Regions from separate parts of the Homo sapiens genome. Here regions 1 and 3 are each linked to region 2. The links are contacts of gene promoters, found by promoter capture Hi-C in human tissues and cell types (Jung and others, 2019). All regions are on one chromosome and are shown on one strand. Each heading gives the region's core, a stretch centred on a gene start or on the middle of the fragment in contact. The rest is flanking DNA. Distances are from core to core; before and after follow the strand shown. Region 1 overlaps ZNF121 (zinc finger protein 121). Region 2 holds the start of OR7D4 (olfactory receptor family 7 subfamily D member 4). Region 3 holds the start of ZNF560 (zinc finger protein 560).

Region 1 (3,666 bases), core at 85-2,584, 360 kb after region 2:
AGTCACAGTGGCTCATGCCTGTAATCCCAGCTCTTTAGGAGCCCAAGGCAGGTGAATCACTTGAGGTCAGGAGTTCGAGACCAGCCTGGCCAACATGGCGAAACTCCATCTCTACTGAAAATACAAAAATTAGCTGGGAATTGTGGCGTGCGCCTGTAGTCCCAGGCAGGAGAATCACTTGAACCCAGGAGGTGGAGGTTACAGTGAGCCGAGATCATGCCACTGCATTCCAGCCTGGGCAACAGTGAGACTCCGTCTCTAGAAAAAAAAGAGAGGTTGATTCATGGGTAAAATACACAGTTAGAAGAAATAAGAACTAGTGTTCAATAGATCAGTAGGGTGACTACATTTAACACTCATCTATTGTACATTTCAAAACAGCTAAGAGAATAACTTGATTTTCCTGCAATAAAGAAAGGATAAATATTTAAGGTGACAGATATTCTACTTACCCTGATTTGATAATATAAATGCATCAAATTATCACATGTACTCAGAAAACATGTACGTCTATTATGAATCAAAAAACTTTTTTTGAATTTTCAAATAGAGGGTGGGAGATTCTGGGGCCACCATGTCTGTGGGTAAAGATATTCCCTTGTCAGCCAGGCGCGGGTGGCTCACACCTGTTATCCCAGCACTTTGGGAGGCTGAGACGGGCGGATCACGACGTCAGGAGATTGAGACCATCCTGGCTAACACGGTGAAACCTCGTCAATACTAAAAATACAAAAAATTAGCCGGGCGTGTTGGCGGGCACCTGTAGTCCCAGCTACTCAGGAGGCTGAGGCAGGAGAATGGCGTGAACTCGGGAGGCAGAGTTTGCAGTAAGCCCAGTTTGTGCCACTGCACTCCAGCCTGGGTGACAGAGAAAAACTAGTCTCAAAAAGAAAAAAAGAAAAAAAAAAAGATAGATATTCCCTTGTCTGGATCATGTAAAGACATTCCCTACAAAAAGACATTCCCTGCAAGATGTCCCTCCAAGTTACTTCACCTAATACCACCTACCACTAAAAACGAGCAATGAGCCATGATTATGCCATTGCCCTCCAGCCTGGGTGATCCAGCAAGACTCAAAAAAGAAAAAAAAAAAAACTCAGTATGGGGGTTTCTCAAAAAACTAAAAATAGAACTGTCAATAGAGCTACCACCCGTAAACCTCTTGAATTTTGGAGGCAACATATACATTTGTATGTGCTTTAACGCCCCACACAGTTGCCTGTAAGGATTCTAGTTTCAACTGTAGACAAGAGCAATTTCAGGCTGCACTGCAGGCTTCCCAAGCACTTGGTCCACCTGATCCAGCAGACCCAATGATACTCAACGTGTCCATGTTAAATGGCATCCTATTTATTGGAAGCCTCTGGCATACACCAACAGAAGATGTAGAGTAGAGGCCTCTGGTATTCCATAGTCAATCCATGCCCTCTTGTGCAGATTAACTGTTTCTCTTTTGAGAAACAGGTTGTGGTTTGCCACTACCATGCGATAGAGAATGAACAACTAATCATGGGACATGAAGTAACTAAGGCAGATCTGAGTAATTTGAGACTTTCTGGTCCCCAAAGCACGAAGTACATACTGTCAGCCCTTATCAAACAAAGGTTGTCAGCTTCTCCTTTAGGCCAAAAACCCCGAGTTTGTAGGAAATCGCATGAAATAAAGGAATATTTACACACACCATGAGAATCCAATCAGAAATATCTGATTGTATGACTTTCTAAGAGAATGAGTGTTAGGAATAACGCTCAAAATCCTAAGGAAATTGAACACTCGAACAAAGGATTCTTAGCAAAGCAATTTTACTTCTGTGCAGAGGGGTGCCTCCTTGACCAGTTGCCATGAGAGCACACCTGAACAAAGGGGCATGAGAGCCTTTACTCCTGATGCAAGTCCTGCCCCTGTACCCTTTCCCTATTGGCCGGGGTCAGGTCGTACAATCTAAACTAATCCCGGTTGGTGAAACACCTGATTTTTTTTAGATAGGGTGGGCACGTAGAAGAAAAGTGGAGAGGAAGGGGAAGGGATGTCTGTAGTGAGCTAGAAAGTCCTCTTTCTAAGTAAGGAAAGGTATGTGAGCTGGTACTGATAACGCTTTGTACTGTGGCATGCCTGGGCATCTAACAAAGGCAAAAAGGAGAAAAAAGGAGAAAAAGGGGGGGTACTATGAATTAGAGAATAAAAGATTGATGAGATTATTTGAAGAGAAACCTCATCATATCCTCATATCCCACAGTGTGACTCTCCAAAAGTCAATATAATATACAATAATAACTGTTCTAGGTAAAAAGACACTGAAAACATTAACAATTGCAATGTAAAAATCTTGAATGGATCTTAAACCCAAAAACATCCAAGAGCATACGTTGAATCAATGCGGAGAATTTTAGTTATTATAAAAAGCAGACATTAGATGACATTATTATTTTTTATTTAAGTGAAATACTAGTATTGTGGTTTCAGAATGACAGTGCTATTTTTTTAGGCGATGCATTACCAAGTATTTAAAGGTCAAGTATCACGTGTGCAATTATGCTCAATTTACACTCAAATTGTTCACCATAAAATGTATTTACCTGAGGTGAAAGAAAACAAGCACAATGCTCAAAAAGTAAGTGTTCAGGCACAGTGGCTCACACCTGTAATCCCAGCATTTTGGGAGGCCGAAGCAGGTGAACTGCCTGAGCTCAGGATTTCGAGACCAGCCTGGCCAACATGGTGAAACCTTGTCTCTACTAAAATACAAAAAAAAATTAGCTGGGCATGGCGGCATGTGCCTGTGTCCCAGCTACTAGGTGTCAGGCCTCTGAGCCGAAGCCAAGCCATCAGACTCCCTGTGACCTGCACGTATACATCCAGATGGCCTGAAGCAACTGAAGAACAACAAGAAGAAGCGAAAATAGCTAGTTCCTGCCTTAACTGATGACATTCCACCATTGTGATTTGTTCCTGCCCCAACCTAACTGATCAATTGACCTTGTGACATTCCTTCTCCTGGACAATGAATCTCAGGAGCTCCCCACTGAGCACCTTGTGATCCCCGCCCCTGCCCGCAAGAGAACAACCTCCTTTAACTGTAATTTTCCACTATCTACCCAAATCCTATAAAACTGCCCGACCCCTATCTCCCTTTGCTGACTCCTTTTCTGAACTCAGTCTGCCTGCACCCAGGTGATTAAAAGCTTTATTGCTCATACAAAGCCTGTTTGGTGGTCTCTTCACATGGACGCACCTAATGCTAGGGAGGCAGGAGAATTACTTGAACCTGGGAGGCAGAGGTTGCAGTGAGCCGAGATCGCACCTCTGCACCCCGACCCGGGTAGCAGAGCGAGACTCTGTCTCAAAAAAAAAAAAAAAAAAACTACTAGACTGGGTGTGTTAGATGTTCAAGTTTTCCCTAGGATCAAATTTTTCAGAAAAAAATGTCAAAACTACACTTAGTCTAAACATGCTGTTAATAAATTCAATAGATACTACTTTATTACACTAATACTAGAATAATATTCTGATTATAAAGCCTCCATCCTGGCCAGGAGCGGAGGCTCACGCCTGTAATCCCAGCTCTTTGGGAGGCCGTCAGGCGGATTACAAGGTCAGGAGTTCGAGACCAGCCTGGCGAGCATGGTGAAACCCTGTCTCCACTAAAAATACAAAAAAAAAAAATTA
Region 2 (3,378 bases), core at 578-3,077:
CTACTGACCTCAAGTGATCTGCCCACCTCGGCCTCCCAAAATGCTGGGATTACAGACATGAGCTACTGCACCTGGCCGGATCATTGTTAATTAGGGGAAGTAAGGAAAGGAAAGGGTAAATCTTCTAGGCTGACAGAAGAGAATTCGAGATTGTCCCATGGGTCATTGAGCTTGTAAAGGAAGGGATTTGAGATGCCAGTGAGATGGGGAGCAGGGAATGAAAGCGGGATATGTATTTGATGACTAGAAATAGAACATCCTATATTCTTCCTCCTTGTCCCTTTCACATTGGTCAACTTATATTTAGTTTTAGACAGTGGTTGCGATTGTTTTGTCTCATCATTTAACAAGGATTTACGTGGTGCCCAGCACATTACTGATTCTGAGCAAGTACAAATTGAAATGTTCTATAAAGACTGGGACCAAAGCATCAACTATAACACAAAATAGAAATCTTCAAGTTTAAGACATGTTTGAATATAGACATAAATTTAATAATACAGTAAATAACATATTCATATCTCTTTTAAAATAATGATAAATGAAGTAGTAATACCAGCTCTAACAATGGAAGCAGGTTTAATGTAAGAATGTCTGCATAATTCATCACAAAAACAGGTCAGTAAAGAGAAATCATAAACAAAATCACAATAGAAAAAATGCATTTGAAAAAGATTATCAACCAGGGCAGATCCTCTCAATAAAGGAAGAAACCAAGGACAATTGCTTAACCCGATAAACAATGGTTGTTTTAATACCACAGGCAACAAGATATGCTATGTTAAAACAGTAAGGGGTTTAAATTCCTGGATACACCAAAGGCCGTCTACTACAATTTCAATCTTTTGATATTTTGGTGAACATGCAAATGGATTTTTTTTTGGGGGGGACATGGTGTCACTTTGTCACCTGGGCTGGAGTGCGGGGTGCAGTCTCAGCTTACTGCAACCTCTGCCTCCTGGGTTCAAGCAATTATCCCATCTCAGTCTCCCGAGTAACTGGGATTGCAGGTGTAAGCTAAGGTGTCAGGCTTTCTTTTTTTGTTATTGTTTAGTAGAGACAGGGTTTTGCCATGTTAGCCAGGCTGGTCTCAGGGTCCTGGCCTCAAGTGATCTGCCCGCCTCGGCCTCCCAAAGTGCTGGGATTATAGATGTGAGCCACTACGTTCAGCCAAGGGATTTTTAATATGAGAAAAAAAATTGGACTGCATGTTGAATGTCAGAAATAATTGTATTATTTCTATATGATATCATGGATACTAAGTTGAAATAGCAAAAACATAACAGCTAGTAAGTGCTGTAAATAAGTCACCATCTCCACCACATCAACCCTACCCCCAATCCCCAGACCACTCTGGGTCTGGTAACCAATAATCTGCCAGGAAAAATATAGAATATAATAGAAAAATCCAATCACATTAGGAACACATAGACAATACCTTGAGCATAGTAGATCTTCCGTGAGTAGTTAATGAATAAGTAACTGGATGTACGAAATTCAACAGGAGACTAAAGTTTATAGGAAAGAGTGCAGGAGAGTTAGAGACTGTTCGGAAAATAACTTATTAAAGACGGGCCCTGGATTCCAAGGAGTGAGAACAGAAGGTGGGAGACACTGGTTTCTGTGAAAACTAAAGTACCATCAAAGTACAGGGACTTCACCTTCATAGACTCAATAAGTATGGGACTTTCCAGGCTCATTACTGTGAAGGCTAGTACTTATTCTCTCTCCTCTTTTCCTTCTTACCCCACCAGCCCTCACTGGGTCACACTAACTCTGATGGTTATCACTGAAGTTTTCTCTTCTACACGATCTGTTCCTAGGAAGCCGTACTGGGTTTTTTCCAAAGGCTGGGAGCAGAGAATTACAGGTGAGGTTGTTTAAACAGGGGCACATTTTAAGTTTCCAGTGTCTCAAGAGTTGAATTCTCAGAGCACCTTATTAAATAAATTGTTCTATTTTCTTCCCACTCTCCAAAGAGTTTGGCTCCCTTTGAGTAGTAAGAAGATGATAGAATGGAAATTTTTCAGTTAATTTTGTGATGAAATAGGCAGTGGTAGGGCATGATGGATTTATTTCCCCCAAGAAGAAATTCTTTCTTCGGTTTAATTTGAAAGTCACAAGTTTTGCCCTAAGGAAAGATTAATTTCTGCAAGGAACTAAACTCAGGAATCATCTCCAAGCGATGTGACTCCCTTGAAGAGTCTTTGGAGATTTTATGGATCCCTCGGTGTTGAAAATTCATGGAAACAAAAATGTCTTTTCTTTTTAAATATTTTTTCAAATTATTTTTATATATTTTTTTAAATTATAGAATTATATGTATGTATCATGTACAACTTGATATTTGGAAATATATATACATTGTGGACATTCAATGTATCTAATTAACATACGCATTATCTCACAGAGTCGTTATCCTGGTGAGAACACTTAATATCCACTCTCTTAGCATTTTCAAAGAATATCATATATATCATCATTAACTAAAGTCATCCTGCTGTACAATAGATCTCTTGAACTTACTTCTCTTATATAGCTGTAATTTTGTATTCTTTTACTAACATCTCCACAACACCAACACTACTCCTCAACCCCAAACCACTCTGGGTCTGGTAACCAACATTCTACTTCTTTGAAATCTGGATTCTATTTCTCTGAGATCACCTTCGTTAGATTCCACATATGAGTGAGATCATGTGATATTTGTCTTTCTGTGCCTCCCTTATTTCACTTAACACAATGTTCTCTGAGTTCATCCATGTTGCAAATGACAGGATTTCCTTGTGTTTTATGGATGAATCATATTCCATTGTGTATATATACTACATTTTCTTTATCCATTCATTTATTTGCAGACAACTAGGTTGATTCTGTGTCTTGGCTACTGTGAATAATGCTCCAATAAACATGGGAGTGCGATATCCCTTCCACACACTGACTTCGTTTCTTATTGATATATACCCAGTAGTGGACTGCTGGATCATATGGTAGTTCTATTTTTAAGTTTTTGAGGAACCTCCATACTCTTTTCCATAATGGTTGTACTAATTTACATTCCTACCAACAGTGTAGAAGGGTTTCCATTTCTTCATATCCTGGCCAGCACTTACTATCTTTTGTCTTTTTAGTAATAGCCATTTGAGATGAAGTGAGGTGATATCTCATTGTGGTTTTCATTTGCATTTCCCTGATGATTAGTGAAGTTAAACCTTTTAAAAATGTATGTTGGGCCGGGCGCAGTGGCTCACGCCTGTAATCCCAGCACTTTGGGAGGCCTAGACGGGCGGATCACAGGGTCAGGCGATCGAGACCATCCTGGCTAAAGGTGAAACCCCGTCCCTACTAAAAATACAAAAAATTAGCCGGGCGTGGTGG
Region 3 (3,494 bases), core at 603-3,102, 280 kb after region 2:
CATCTCCACTACAAATACAAAAATTAGCTGGGCGAGGTGGCACGTGCCTGAAATCCCAGCTACTCAAAAGGCTGAGGCAGGAGAATCGCTTGAACCAGGGAGGCAGAGGTTGCAGTAAGTCGAGATCACACCACTGCACTCCACCCTGGCGACAGAACGAGACTGTGTCTCAAAAAAAAAATAGAATGAAATCCTGTCATTTTCAACAACGTAGATAGAACTGGAGGACAGTACGTTAAGTGAAATAAACCAGGCACAGAAACACAAAGTTGGGCGTGGTAAGCGGTGGTTGCAGTGAGCCAATATCATGCCACCGCACTCCAGCCTGGGCAACAAGGCAACATCCTGCCTCAAAAAAACTCTCAAAAAAAAAAAATCTTGAATAGAGCTCAGATCCAAAAACATTCCGTTATATTTTAGAAGAATTTGGAGAATTTTCATTTATTATACATAGTAAATATTAGATAACATTATTATTTTTAATTTTCTTGATGCAAATAGTATTACGGTTTTAGTAAAACAACACTCTTATCATTGAGTCAGGCATTACCCACTACTTAAATGTCGAGCTTACCATCCTGGCTATCACGGTGAAACCCCATCTCTACAAAAATACAAAAAATTATCCGGGCACGGTGGCACACCCCTGTAATTACAGCCACTTGGGAAGCTGAGGCAGGAGAATCGCTTGAACCCGGGAGGCAGAGGTTGCAGTGAGGCGAGATCGCGCCACTGCACTCCAGCCTGGGCGACACAGCTAGACCCCCTCTCAAAAAAAAAAAAAAAAAAAAAATGTCGAGCTTCATCTCTGCAATGAATTTCCCATTGACTCTCAAACTGTTCACCATAAAATTTATTTACGAGACGGCGAATACACAAAACGCTAAAAAACAGGTGCAGCTACAATGGATATTTATTCGTGGTACTGGATGGTCAACATACCCATAGGTTTAAGTTTTTTCGAAAAAAAATGCGGGAAAAATACACTTAGTACAGTCATCCTGTTAATGGTAAATTCGATTATTCTAGTATTAGTGTGTAAACCCTCCATCCTTTCTTCCAGGAAGCCTGGTTATGAAGCTCTTTGGAGACGTACAGAGCTAGGAACTTCAGATGAAAAGAATGGCTGAGTATTCTTAGGTTTCTTTAGTAGAAAGACTCGCGGTCTACAAACGTTTATATGCACATGCAGAAATACGCACACCCTAGACAACTAAGAAAGCACCTTTCTACCGGAACGTAATGTGTCAATAAAAAATATACAGGTTTCACAAAGGCAAAATGCCAAAATCTCACATGAAACACTCGTTTGCATAAAAAAGGAAGCAGCTGCCCCCTTAAACCAACTTTTTCCCAATGCTCACCCGAACACGGTGGAGTCGCCAGGTCCGTGGGGCTACAGGATCTTGGGGACGGAGTCAATCGAACGCGAACGGCAAAATTCTTTTCCCTCTGAAACACAATTCACAAACGTTGCCTTGGAGACTTATTTTTTAAGGCCTCAGAACGCTTGGACACTTTTGAAGACGGGAACACACGGCTGAAAACAGCCCTCGGACGCGCCCATACTGCACTTCCCACCCGGCTCCTCTAGGGGACCGAAGGTCCCAATGGCCTCTTCGACGTGGCCTCACCCGATGGCTCCGCGACTCCTGCGGACTCCTGTGGAGTGGTCCAGGCCTCTGTAAGGAGGTTCCTCGATTACCCTGGGTCGATTGTGACCTCTGCCACCCCCCGAAACACCGCCCAACCCACTAGTCCACACGAGCCTCACCAAAGTAGTGAACGACCAGACAACACAAAGGAAAAAGTGGCTCTGAGGAAACAGGCGCCAGCGACCAAAAGAGAGAACTGGCGCGCCGCAACGTCACTTCCGTTTGGGGCATTGGAAGGGGCGTGGCTCGTTGTGTGGGCAGTTGGACAGGATGGAACTCTTCAGGATTCTAGTTTCCCTCCGCGTGGGTGCGGAGGTATCAAGGGGTCGGCTCAGTGCCTGGGTGGGCAAGAGAGAAATGGACCCACAGAGAAAGGTGGGGGTTAAATCAGGGCTGTGGGCGGGGCCCATGCCCGGGGGCGGGGCTGGAGGTGGGACCAGACCCAGCCGGTGGCTTCGGTGGCAGAATGGACCAGGAAGGCGAAACGTCGGGCGATGGACTCGCCCCTCAGGATGCTCATTAGAAACTTTCCCCACGTTCCTGGACCCCTTTCAGGATTCTCTCCAGTTGATAACCTGCCAATCCACAAAATGGCCTGCTTCCTGCATTCGATCACGTCTTTAGAACTTTATTTTCTCTTATTTCTTTTTATTTATCTGACCTTGCTAAACTCTAATCATTGATTCCTCTGCGTTTTCAGTTATCGATACTTTCTGTAAATATTGCAATTTTTTTCTTTTCTTTCTTTTTTCTTTTCTTTTCTTTTTTTCTTCGAGGTAGGGTCTGGCTCGGTTGCCAAGGCTGGAATGCAGTGGTAGGAACACGGCTCACTGCAGTCTCCACCTCTCCAGGCTCAAGCCATCCTTCCACCTCAGCCTCCCGAGTAGCTGGGACCACGGGCGCACCGCACCCGGCTAATTTTTGTATTATTATTATTATCATCATTATTATTATTTTGTAGAGACAGGATCTAACCATGTTGCCCAGGCTGGTCTGGAACTCCTGGGCTCAAGTGATCTGCCCGCCCTGCACTCCCGAAGTGGGATTACAGGCGTGAGCCATCATGCACCATGCCTGGCCTTATTGTATTTTTTTTTCTTCTTCAACAATGTATTTGTTACTATTTCTCAAATCTTATCAAATGATTCAAAGCCTCCTGTACTACTTTATGAAATAACACTGATACCAGGCATTCTTCACTTATTCTGTGCAGAAAAAGAAAGGACTGTTGGACTTGTGGTAGAGATTTAGTTGAATCTTCGGGTTATATTGGTATCTTTATAATACTGAGTCTTCCTATGTGTGAATATACAATATCTCTCTATTTAGGTCTTCTTTAAACTCTTTCAGTAATGTTTTGAAATTTTCAGTTTACAAATATTTTACCTCTTGGGGTAAAGTTATTCCCATGTAACTTATTTGTAAAAGGGATCACATTCTCAGTTTCCTTTTCTGATTGTTCATTGCTGGTGTATAGATACAAAACTAATTTTCATCTCTTGATGTTGTACTGTGCAACTTTACGGAATTTATTACAAGCTCTGCTAGTTTTCTTGTAGATTCTTCAAAATTCTCTATATATCAAATATCACCTATAAATATATTTTTATTTGTTCTATTCTAATTGAGAAACCTTTTATTTTATTTTCTTGTGTAATTGCTCTGGCTAGAATTTCCTGTAGAGGCTGGGCACGGTGGCTCACTCCTGTAATCCCAACATTTTGGGAGGCCGAGGTGGGTGGATCACCTGAGGTCAGGAGTTCAAGACCAGCCTGACCAACATGGTGAAACCCCGTCTCTACTAAAGATACAAAAAATTAGCCAGGCGTGGTGGTTGGC

The links. Contacts are between HindIII fragments. The study calls those that stand out against the background at their distance.
Region 1: a contact is called between a fragment that was not itself captured here and the fragment with the promoter of OR7D4 in region 2, in 1 of the 25 tissues and cell types used here (adrenal gland).
Region 3: a contact is called between the fragment with the promoter of ZNF560 here and the fragment with the promoter of OR7D4 in region 2, in 3 of the 25 tissues and cell types used here (lymphoblastoid cells, mesendoderm cells and spleen).

What each region holds. Positions count from the first base shown.
Region 1 is chr19:9,579,407-9,583,072 of GRCh38, forward strand. The region is part of intron 1 of ZNF121 (zinc finger protein 121); the gene reads right to left. Among named protein-coding and RNA genes, the nearest start is that of ZNF121, 3.3 kb to the right of the region's middle. RefSeq lists enhancers at 2,236-3,049, 3,050-3,666. The HindIII fragment of the contact is 5,310 bases long and covers 1-3,666 here.
Region 2 is chr19:9,217,762-9,221,139 of GRCh38, forward strand. It overlaps OR7D4 (olfactory receptor family 7 subfamily D member 4), which reads right to left and starts at 1,828. Exons shown (of 2, transcript NM_001005191.3): 1 at 1,439-1,828. It also overlaps a transcript of OR7E24 not described here. The HindIII fragment of the contact is 21,358 bases long and covers 1-3,241 here.
Region 3 is chr19:9,496,764-9,500,257 of GRCh38, forward strand. ZNF560 (zinc finger protein 560) reads right to left here and starts at 1,853. Exons shown (of 10, transcript NM_152476.3): 1 at 1,775-1,853; 2 at 1,365-1,452. The HindIII fragment of the contact is 15,358 bases long and covers 1-3,494 here.